Regions from separate parts of the Homo sapiens genome. Here region 2 is linked to region 1. Evidence: promoter capture Hi-C in human tissues and cell types (Jung and others, 2019). All regions are on one chromosome and are shown on one strand. The core of a region is centred on a gene start or on the middle of the fragment in contact, and the rest is flanking DNA. Distances in the headings are between cores, read along the strand shown.

Region 1 (4,635 bases), core at 278-2,777:
GGCGGCGCGAGCGGCGGACGCAGGCGCCGACCGGACATCTCCTGCTGGCTACAGCCCAGAGGACCGGGCGCAAGTGCGAGGAGCGCGCGAAGTTCCTCTCCTCGCTGGGAAGGTGCGAGCAGGTGTAAGAGGAGACCAGGAGTGCAGCGGGAGAAGGAGAGTCAGAGGAACAGAGACAGTGACACCGAAAAAGAAAGAAACAGTGACAAAGATACGAAGAGACGGAGAAAAAGAACCAGAAGCAAGGAGACACAGACAGGAACGGGGACTGAGAGACAGGAACACAAAAGCTAACAGAAGTAGCAGGAAAAGACAAAAAGCAACCGAGATCAACACAAACACAGTGAAACACAGATAAGCAGTGAAAACAGAACAAACTCAGAGACCCAGCCCCAGAATCACCCCTCCCCCACCCCGCCACAGTCCATGGGTCCCCCGCCCCCTCTTCTGCCCTGGTCCAAATCCCTTCTCGCTGCGGGGTTTGTTCTCCCGCTCCCTCATGTAGCCACCGAGCCCCAGCCCCGGCCCGGCAGCGCGTTGGACTCACCCAACTTAACTGCCTCGTTGTACTTGAGCAGTGCCGCCTCCACCTGGCGCTCGCGGTACAGTCGGTTGCCCTCGTGCCGGAGTTGCGACGCTCGCGCTGGGCCTGGAAACAACTTGCCGAGGAGGCCGCTGAGCACCACGTTGACTCGCAGCGGCGGCGGCGGCTGCTGCCCAGCCCGCCGGGCTCCACGCGCCCGCCCAGTGGCCACCATCAAGGCGGAGAGCTTGACCCCGCACAGCGCACAGCGCCGGTCGGCGGCCCGCCCACGTTCCAGGCACAGTTTACAAAAGGTGTGGCCACACGACAAGGACACGGGGTCTGATAGAAACCCATGACATTTCCGGCACTTAAAGCCGTCCCACACCTCGGTGGCCGCCGCAGCCGCGGCGGCCCCCGTCTCTTCCGCCGCCACGGTGCCGCTTGCAGTGCTACCCTCGTCCGGGGGCGCCGGCGCCAGCGCCTCGCCTTGCGGGACTTTCTCCGCCAGGCAGCGCACCAGCTGCTCCAGCTGCTCAGCCACCAGCTGCTGCCGCTCGGAGAGCTGTCTATACACCTCGAGGGCTTCACGGATTCGCCCCCGGGACGCCAAGGCGTCTGCCTGCGTGAGCAGGACTTTGCTCTCCGGCGTTGAGGTCCCCGGAGACTGCTCTTGCTCTGGCTCCCGCGTCGGTAGAGGTGCGGGGCCCTCTGCAGCCACCTTTGGGTGGGGGCCCATGTCTACTTGGGCCGCTGATGCCCCTCGCTCCGCCGACTCCAAGTTGTCGCTGCTGACCTCAGCGGGCAAGCTCAGCATCTGTTCGATCCGTACTGACTCCATGGGAAGAGGGACACGGGAGGAGACGAGGCGTCTAGGGACCGGGGACACGAAGCAAGGAGTGGCAGCTGGAGGAAATCGGGGCAGCCACCGCCGCCATGCCACCGAGCTCCTGACCCTGCCGCGCCTCCGGGAGCTCCATGCCGGCCGCCCCGCGCCGCCTAATAACTGTCTTGTCTCAGCAAAGTGTTATATAAAACGGTACCACGTGACGTGCCGCCACGCTGTTCATTGGCCGGCGGCGGGGAAATTGTTACAAAACCAGACAGTTTTGTAACAGTGTTGCTCTTGCTTCTTTGGGCTTCGCTTTTCTTGGCTTCTTTTTGAGGTTGTTTGTGTTTACACTTCGCCTTATTCCTCCTCACCACCTGGTTCTTTTTCGGAAGTGGGGTTGTGGGGTGGGGAGAAACTCAGTGTCTTCTCTTGGGCTTCTCAGTCTCCAAACCCCACTCCATCCCACCTCCAAACGGGCCAGCAAACAGGTCCCCTCTGCCAGCCGCTGACCAGCGGCCCCCCACTCCTCCCAGGAGAGGCTGGTACCTCGAGGTGCACAGTCCGCAGGGTCTTCCGGGACGCCTAAGACTCTCCCTCTTGGGGGAGATGGCTGCTGTCAGGGAAAGGAAGCAGGTTGGGAGGGGTATCCGTGAAGCCCCCCCACACACACACAACCCAGTCCCAGCCCGAGAGCCCTGGGAGCCCCGCCTGGGTTCCTTGCCTTCTCCCAGGAGCCTCCCAAAGGTGGTGAATTCGGTTTCTGAGGGTGCTTGGTGTTCTGTGCCAAGAGTGACTCAGAGCAGCGGGTCCCACCGGCGCAGAAGTTGGGCAGCGCTCGCTGGACAGTGAGGAACTCGCGGAGAAGATGCGCTTGCCGGCTCAGCCCTGGGAGGGAGATGCCCCGCTAACTCCCCTCTTTACCTCTCTACCCCCAACGCCAGAACTAGCGCTGGGGCAGGCGGTAGGCGCCCAGCTGGAGACACACCAGGCCGGCCCCTGGAGCCACTGGCCGGATGGGCGCGGCAGGGATGTACCCGGCCTGCTGGGGTCGGTGGGTACTCTGGGGGCGTGGGAGAGTGGCAGGGGGAAGACGCGAGCTGAGAGCGCTATTCAGGAGAAAGTCCGCGAATCCCGGCACAGCCCAGTGGCAGACCGAATAGCCTCCAGGTTTGTCGCTCCTGAGCGCTGCGCGGGAAGGGTACAACTGGGCACGAGCCTCAGCGCCTGGTTTACAATGGCTAGGGGGCCTCGACGGTGTCCTACACACTTCCTGAAGGCGAGCGGGGTGGCCAACTGCACACTCTTTGTCTGCCTTGAACCCCCACATTTAGGACGGGAACCAAGCTCACAAATGAGCAGACAGAAAACGGTATAGTCGCACTGCTCCAAGCAGGGAGGCAGGGACTAGGCTTGCCGCTGGCTCAGTTGGCCTTCAGAGCCTGCGGGCTCTTGGGCAGTGCCAGGTTGCCGCCCCAGGGGCCTGAAGACCTATTGTTGCCCCCTGCTGCAGCCACCTCTTAGCCAGATGACCTTGGGGAAGTCAAACTTTAGAATCCATCATTTTTGCTTCTGAACAAATGTTAGAGCTGATCTTACTTGGGATTAAGTCATGTTTCAGAGTTGGGTTATGGCAGGCCCCCTCGGGTCTCTGCTTCTCTTTAGGTAGTTAAACCAGTCTTAGATCAACACCAAGGTCCCAGAGAACAGGTACTATGCAGCCAGCTCTAGAGCCTCTTTCTAATAAGACAGGACAGAGGGAGAGGGTCACAGGGCAGAAAGGAAGCATCACATAGGGGAAAAAAGACACACACACGAAAAAAAAAAAAAATGAAGAAGAAGGAGAAGGAGAAGAAGAAATAGAGAAACTCCAGATGTAGTCAGGAAAGCACGAGGGACACATTGGAAAACTTGGCTTGAAGCCTTGGATTTGTCACATATTTGCTATGAAACCTTAGGTAGGTTCTCCAAACCTTAGTTTCTCTTAATCTCCAAGGTTCCCTCCAGCTCTAACCTTGAGTGGCTTTGATCCTAAGACCAAATTTCATGATACTAACTCAGTTACTTAAGTACAAATGACTAGTCCAAATGCTGTGGATGGTGGCTTGAACCGGGGTTGAGGGGATGGGAAATCAATGGAAGATTGTCCATTTAGTCGGGGTCAGACCTGAGCTAGATTTTTTTTTTTTTTTTGAGATGGAGTTTGGCTATTGTTGCCCAGGCTGGAGTGCAATGGAACGATCTCAGCTCACCACAACCTCCGCCTCCCAGGTTCAAGTGATTCTCCTGCCTCAGCCTCCCAAGTAGCTGGGATTACAGGCACGTGCCACCACAGCTGGCTAATTTTTTTGTATTTTTAGTAGAGACGGGGTTTCTCCATGTTGGTCAGGCTGGTCTCGAACTCCTGACCTCAGGTGATCCGCCCGCCTCAGCCTCCCAAAGTGCTGGAATTACAGGTGTGAGCCACCGCGCCTGGCCCCTGAGCTAGATTTTTAAGATGTAGAAGTCGGAGGACTGGCTAAGAGGTGGAGGAGGTGGCCATACCAAGCAGTAGGGGAGAAACTGGAGTTCCTGGTGAGTTGCTATCTAACTGAAGGGAGCTCTTTTCACCTCTCAGTTTCCCCTACTATCAAATGAGGTCCCCAGCACTAATTATCTGCCTGCCCCTTCAGGCATCTGTGAGGAAGGACAGTCGTTGGGGAAGGTAGAGATTCATGAGATAGATAATGATGAAACCATCTTAATTCAAGAGCTTTACCCCTTTGACATATCTAAAATATATATATATATGTCTGTTACCCAAAATTGTTTCCTAGATGCAAATCTGGGATGTGCTTTGCTCCGTGGATGACCTTGACAAGGGAATATCCCCTGGGTTGATTCCCCTCCCTTGCCCTGTTATGGTAGGAAGGCTAAGAGAGGGCCAGGTCAGGTAGAGAGTCACAGTCCTGCAGGCATGGAGAAGAGAAGCTCTCTCCAGGCAGGCCCTCTTGGCTGCCAGTGCAGGAGGTTGACCGTGAACTTGGTCAGGAATGTGAATAGCAGTCTGGATAATGCGAGGTACTCTGGTGTAAATGGCAGTACCAGCTACTCACTGACCAGACTCCACAGGGAGTTTTACATTGTAATCAAGACTGCCTGTAGGACAACACCAAGTGGGTTTCTATTGAATGCTGAAAAACATTATCACAGTGGTTTTCTTTCTTTGTTTGTTTAAGTTAAACAAATATTACCATTACATTGATAGACATTGTTGAACCAATTCAGAAGTCTCCTACTCAGA
Region 2 (4,635 bases), core at 1,470-3,969, 42 kb after region 1:
TACATTTGAAAATTATTAAGATGATAAATTTTGTGTTATGTGTAGTTTGCCACAATGTAAATTTTTTTAAAGGGTGAAATAAAGACTTTTTTTCTTTCTTTCTTTTTCTTTTTTTTTTTTTTTTTGAGACAGAGTCTCTGTTGCCTAGGCTGGAGTACACTGGCATGATCTAGGCTCACTGCAACCTCCGCCTCCCGGATTCAAGTGATTCTTCTGCTTCAGCCTCGCGAGTAGCTGGGACTACAGGTGCATGTCACCACGCCCGCCTAATTTTGTATTTTTAGTAGAGACAGAGTTTCACCATATTGGCCAGGCTGGTCTCTAACTCCTGACCTCGTGATCCACCCGCCTTGGCCTCACAAAGTGTTGGGATTACAGGCGTGAGCCACTGCGCCCATCCCAAAATAAAGACTTTTTTTTTTTTTTGAGACAGAGTCTTGCTCTGTCACCCAGGCTGGAGTGCAGTGGCACCATCTCGGCTCACTGCAAGCTCCGCCTCCCAGGTTCACGCCATTCTCCTGCCTCAGCCTCCCGAGAAGCTGGGATACAGGCGCCCGCCACCACGCCTGGCTAATTTTTTGTATTTTTGGTAGAGACGGGGTTTCACCACGTTAGCCAGGATGGACTCAATCTCCTGACCTCGTGATCTGCCCCCCTCGGCCTCCCAAAGTGCTGGGATTACAGGCGTGAGCCACTGTGCCTGGCCAAAATAAAGACTTTTTAAGCATACAAAAGGTTTAAAAAGTCATCACCAACAGACCTGAATTGTAGTAAATGCTGAAAGACATCCTTTTTTTTTTTTTTTTTTTGAGATGGAGTTTCACTCTTGTTGCCCAGGCTGGAATGCAATGGTGCAATGTCAGCTTGCTGCAACCTTTGCTTCCTGGGTTCAAGCAATTCTCCTGCCTCAGCCTCCCAAGTAGCTGGGATTACAGGCAACTGCCACCACGCCCAGCTAATTTTTTTATTTTTAGTAGAGACGGGGTTTCACCATGTAGGCCAGGCTGGTCTTGAACTCCTGACCTCAGGTGATCCACCCACGTGGGCCTCCCAAAGTGCTGGGATTACAGGCATGAGCCACCATGCCTGGCCTGAAAGACCAGGAAGAAGAGCAGCAGAAGAAATGACCCCAGATGAAAATATGGATCTATAGTAAAGCAATAAAGAACACTGGAAACAGAAACTTCATGAATAAATATATATGATATTTTTCTTATTTCATAAATATCTTTAAAAGATAATTGACTAAGCAAAAATAGTAACAATGCATTGTGGGCTTTATAATTTATGTGTAAGTAAAATATATGCAAACAACAGCATAAAGGCCAGGAGAGAGGAAATGTAGGTATACTATTGGAAGGCTCTTCTTATATTATTTGTGAAATGATATAATATAACTCAAAGGGAGACTACAATAATATATGTGTGTGTGTGTGTGTGTGTGTGTGTGTGTGTGTGTGTTTGTGTAGCTTGAACCCAGGAGGTTGAGGCTACAGTGAGCCATGATCAGGCCACTGCACTACAACCTGAGGGACAGAACAAGACCCTGTCTCAAAAAAAAGAAAAAGACCATCAGACTGGATAATAAAAAAGCAAAAAAGCAAGACCTAAGTGTATGCTGTTCACAACAAACACACTTTAAATACACAAACCAGTGAAAAATAAAGTGATGGAGAAAGATATACCATGTGTAGTGGACTCAGTGGTGGCCCCAAAGATATGTCTATGTTCTAATCCCCAGAACCTGTAAATATTACCTTACGTGGCAAAATATGTGATTAACTTAAGGCTTTTGCGAGGAGCTTGTCCAGGTAGGCCCTAAATGCAATCACATGTATCCTTATAGGAGAGAAAGAGAGCTAATTTAGCTACACTAACACAGAGGAGAAGGCAATATGAACACGGAGCAGAGAAAGAGATAGAGCTGTAGCCACAAGCCAGCGAATACTGACAGACAGCAGAAACTGGAAGAGGCAAAGAATATATTCTCCCTCAGACTCTATGATGGAAGTGTGGTCTTACCTATACCTTGATTTCAGACTTCTCACCTCCGGAACCGTGGGAGAATAAATGTTTTTTAAGCCATCAACATTTCAGTAATTTGTTATAGTAGCCATGAGAAACTAATAGATCTAGTTAATTAATGCTAACACCAGATGCAGGAAAGACAGATGGCTATATTAGTGACAAACAAGTAGATTTCAAAGCAGCAAATATCACGGTAGGATGATAATAATAAAGGGGTCAATTCATCAATAGTACATAACTGTCCTAAATGTTTGTGTACTTGACAAATCTTCAAAATACACAAAGCAAAACGTGTATTCAAGTCATACAAAGTATGTATTCTGATTTCAATGGAATTAAATAATATTCTAAAAACAGAAAGCTGGAAAATACTCAAATATGTGGAAGTTAAACGGCATACTTATAAGTAAAACATGAATTCAAGAAAAAATCAAAAGTGGAATTGGAAGGCATATTTAACTGAATGAAAATGGAAATACAATATATCAAAATATGAGATACCATAAAGCACTATATAGTGGAAAATTTATAGCACTATATTCATATGTAAGAAAAGAAAAAAGATTTCAGATCATTGACATCATTTCCACATTAATAAATTGAAAAAGTAGATCAAATTAAGCAAAAACTAAGAAGTAGAAATCAATAAAATAGAAAACAGAAAATCATTAGAGAAATTTAATGAAACCAAAAGCTGGTTCTCTTGGATAATAAGCAAAATTGATAAAACTCTGGCTATGTGGATCAGGACAAAGAGAAGACACAAATTACCAATGTCATAAATGAGATAAAAATATTAACACAGGGCTGGGCACGGTGGCTCATGCCTGTAATCCCAGCACTTTGGGAGGCCGAGGTGGGCGGATCACGAGGTCAGGAGATCGAGACCATCCTGGCCAACACGGTGAAACCCCGTCTCTACTAAAAATACAAAAAATTAGCCAGGCGTGCTGGTGGGCGCCTGTAGTCCCAGCTACTCGGGAGGCTGAGGCAGGAGAATGGCGTGAACCCAGGAGGCGGAGCTTGTAGTGAGCCGAGATTGCGCCACTGCACTCCAGCCTGGGCGACAGTGCAAGACTCCATCTCAAAAAAAAAAAAAAAAAAACTATTAACACAGATTCTACAAATACTAAATAGGTTAATAAGGGAATATTATAAACACATTTATAGCAATAAATTTGAGGACTTAGATGGGATGGGCTAATTGCTTGAAAGATATAAACTACTAAAGCTCATTAAAGGAGATTATATCTCTATCTAGCTATCTACCTATCTATCTATCTGTATGTATAGAGATACATACACACACATACAAACACACAAAAATGAATACCCCTAAACCTATCATAGAAATATAATTTGTAGTTAAAAAGCTTCTCACTAGTAAACTCCAGTTTAGTAACTCCAGACCTGGATGTTTACACTAGTTATCGCTACCAAAAACTTAAGGTTTGAAATAACATCAATTTTACCCAAACTCTTCCAGGAAATTGAAAGGAAGGAATATTTCCTAACTCATTCTATGAGGACAGCATTACCATGATACCGAAGCAAGACAGATAAAACTACAAACCAATATCCCCTAGTGAACATAGAAACAAAAAACTCTAAACAAAATATTAGCAAACTGAATCTAGCAATATAAGAATATAAAAAATATAATGGGTCCAAAAAAAAACAGTAGACAGAATAACTAAGACCTACTATTTGATAGCACAACAGGGTGACTATAGTCAATAATAACTGTACATTTTAAAATAACTTAAAGAGTGTAATTGAATTGTTTGCAACTCAATGGATAAATGCTTGAGGGGATGGATACCCCATTCTTCATGGTGTGCTTATTTCACATTGCATGACTATATCAAAACATCTCATGTACCTCATAAATACATACACCTACTATGTACCCACAAAAATTAAAAATTAAAAAAAAAATAATACATCATGTGTAAGTGTGGTTTATATCAGGAATGCAAGGTTGGTTTACATTTGAAAATCAATCAATATAATTGACCATGTTAATAAATTAACAAAGAAAAGCCATGGGCTCATCTCAATAGATGCAGAAAAATCATTTGACAAAACCAATATCTATGGCTGATAACAATTCTCAGCAATATAGGAGTAGAAGTAAAGATCCTCAACCTATTAAAGCACATCTATGAAAATCCTATACCTAACAAACTTAATGGTGAAAGACTGGGTGCCTTCCTTATAAAATCAGTAACAAGTCAGGGATGTTTGTTCTCACCTCTTATATTCAGCATTGCCTTAGTCTGTTTTGTGCCGTTATAACAGAATACCTGAGACTGGGTAATTTACAAAGAACAGAAATTAATTACTGATAATTCTGAAGGCTGTGAAGTCCAAGATCAAGTCACCAGCAGGTTAGAGCCTGACCTCTCTGCTGCCAAGATGATGCCTCAAACACTGCATCCTCTGGAGGAGAGGAACGCTGTGTCCTCATGTGGTAGAAGAGAGCAAACCCACTCCCACAAGTCCTTTTTTTATAATGGCATTAATCCATTTAGAGGGCAGAGCCCTCAAAACCTAAACATCTCCCAAAAGGCCCCACTTCCCAACACTGCTGCAACTAGGGATCAA

Evidence for each region. The method cuts DNA at HindIII sites, captures the fragments that hold promoters and counts their contacts. A contact is called where the count stands out against the background at its distance.
Region 2: a contact is called between a fragment that was not itself captured here and the fragment with the promoter of LONRF3 in region 1, in 2 of the 25 tissues and cell types used here (aorta and ovary).

The regions. Positions count from the first base shown.
Region 1 is chrX:118,971,510-118,976,144 of GRCh38, reverse strand. It overlaps LONRF3 (LON peptidase N-terminal domain and ring finger 3), which reads right to left and starts at 1,527. Exons shown (of 11, transcript NM_001031855.3): 1 at 548-1,527. The coding sequence starts at 1,364. The HindIII fragment of the contact is 6,747 bases long and covers 1-4,635 here.
Region 2 is chrX:118,930,610-118,935,244 of GRCh38, reverse strand. No RefSeq gene overlaps it. Among named protein-coding and RNA genes, the nearest start is that of LONRF3, 42 kb to the left of the region's middle. The HindIII fragment of the contact is 7,100 bases long and covers 1-4,635 here.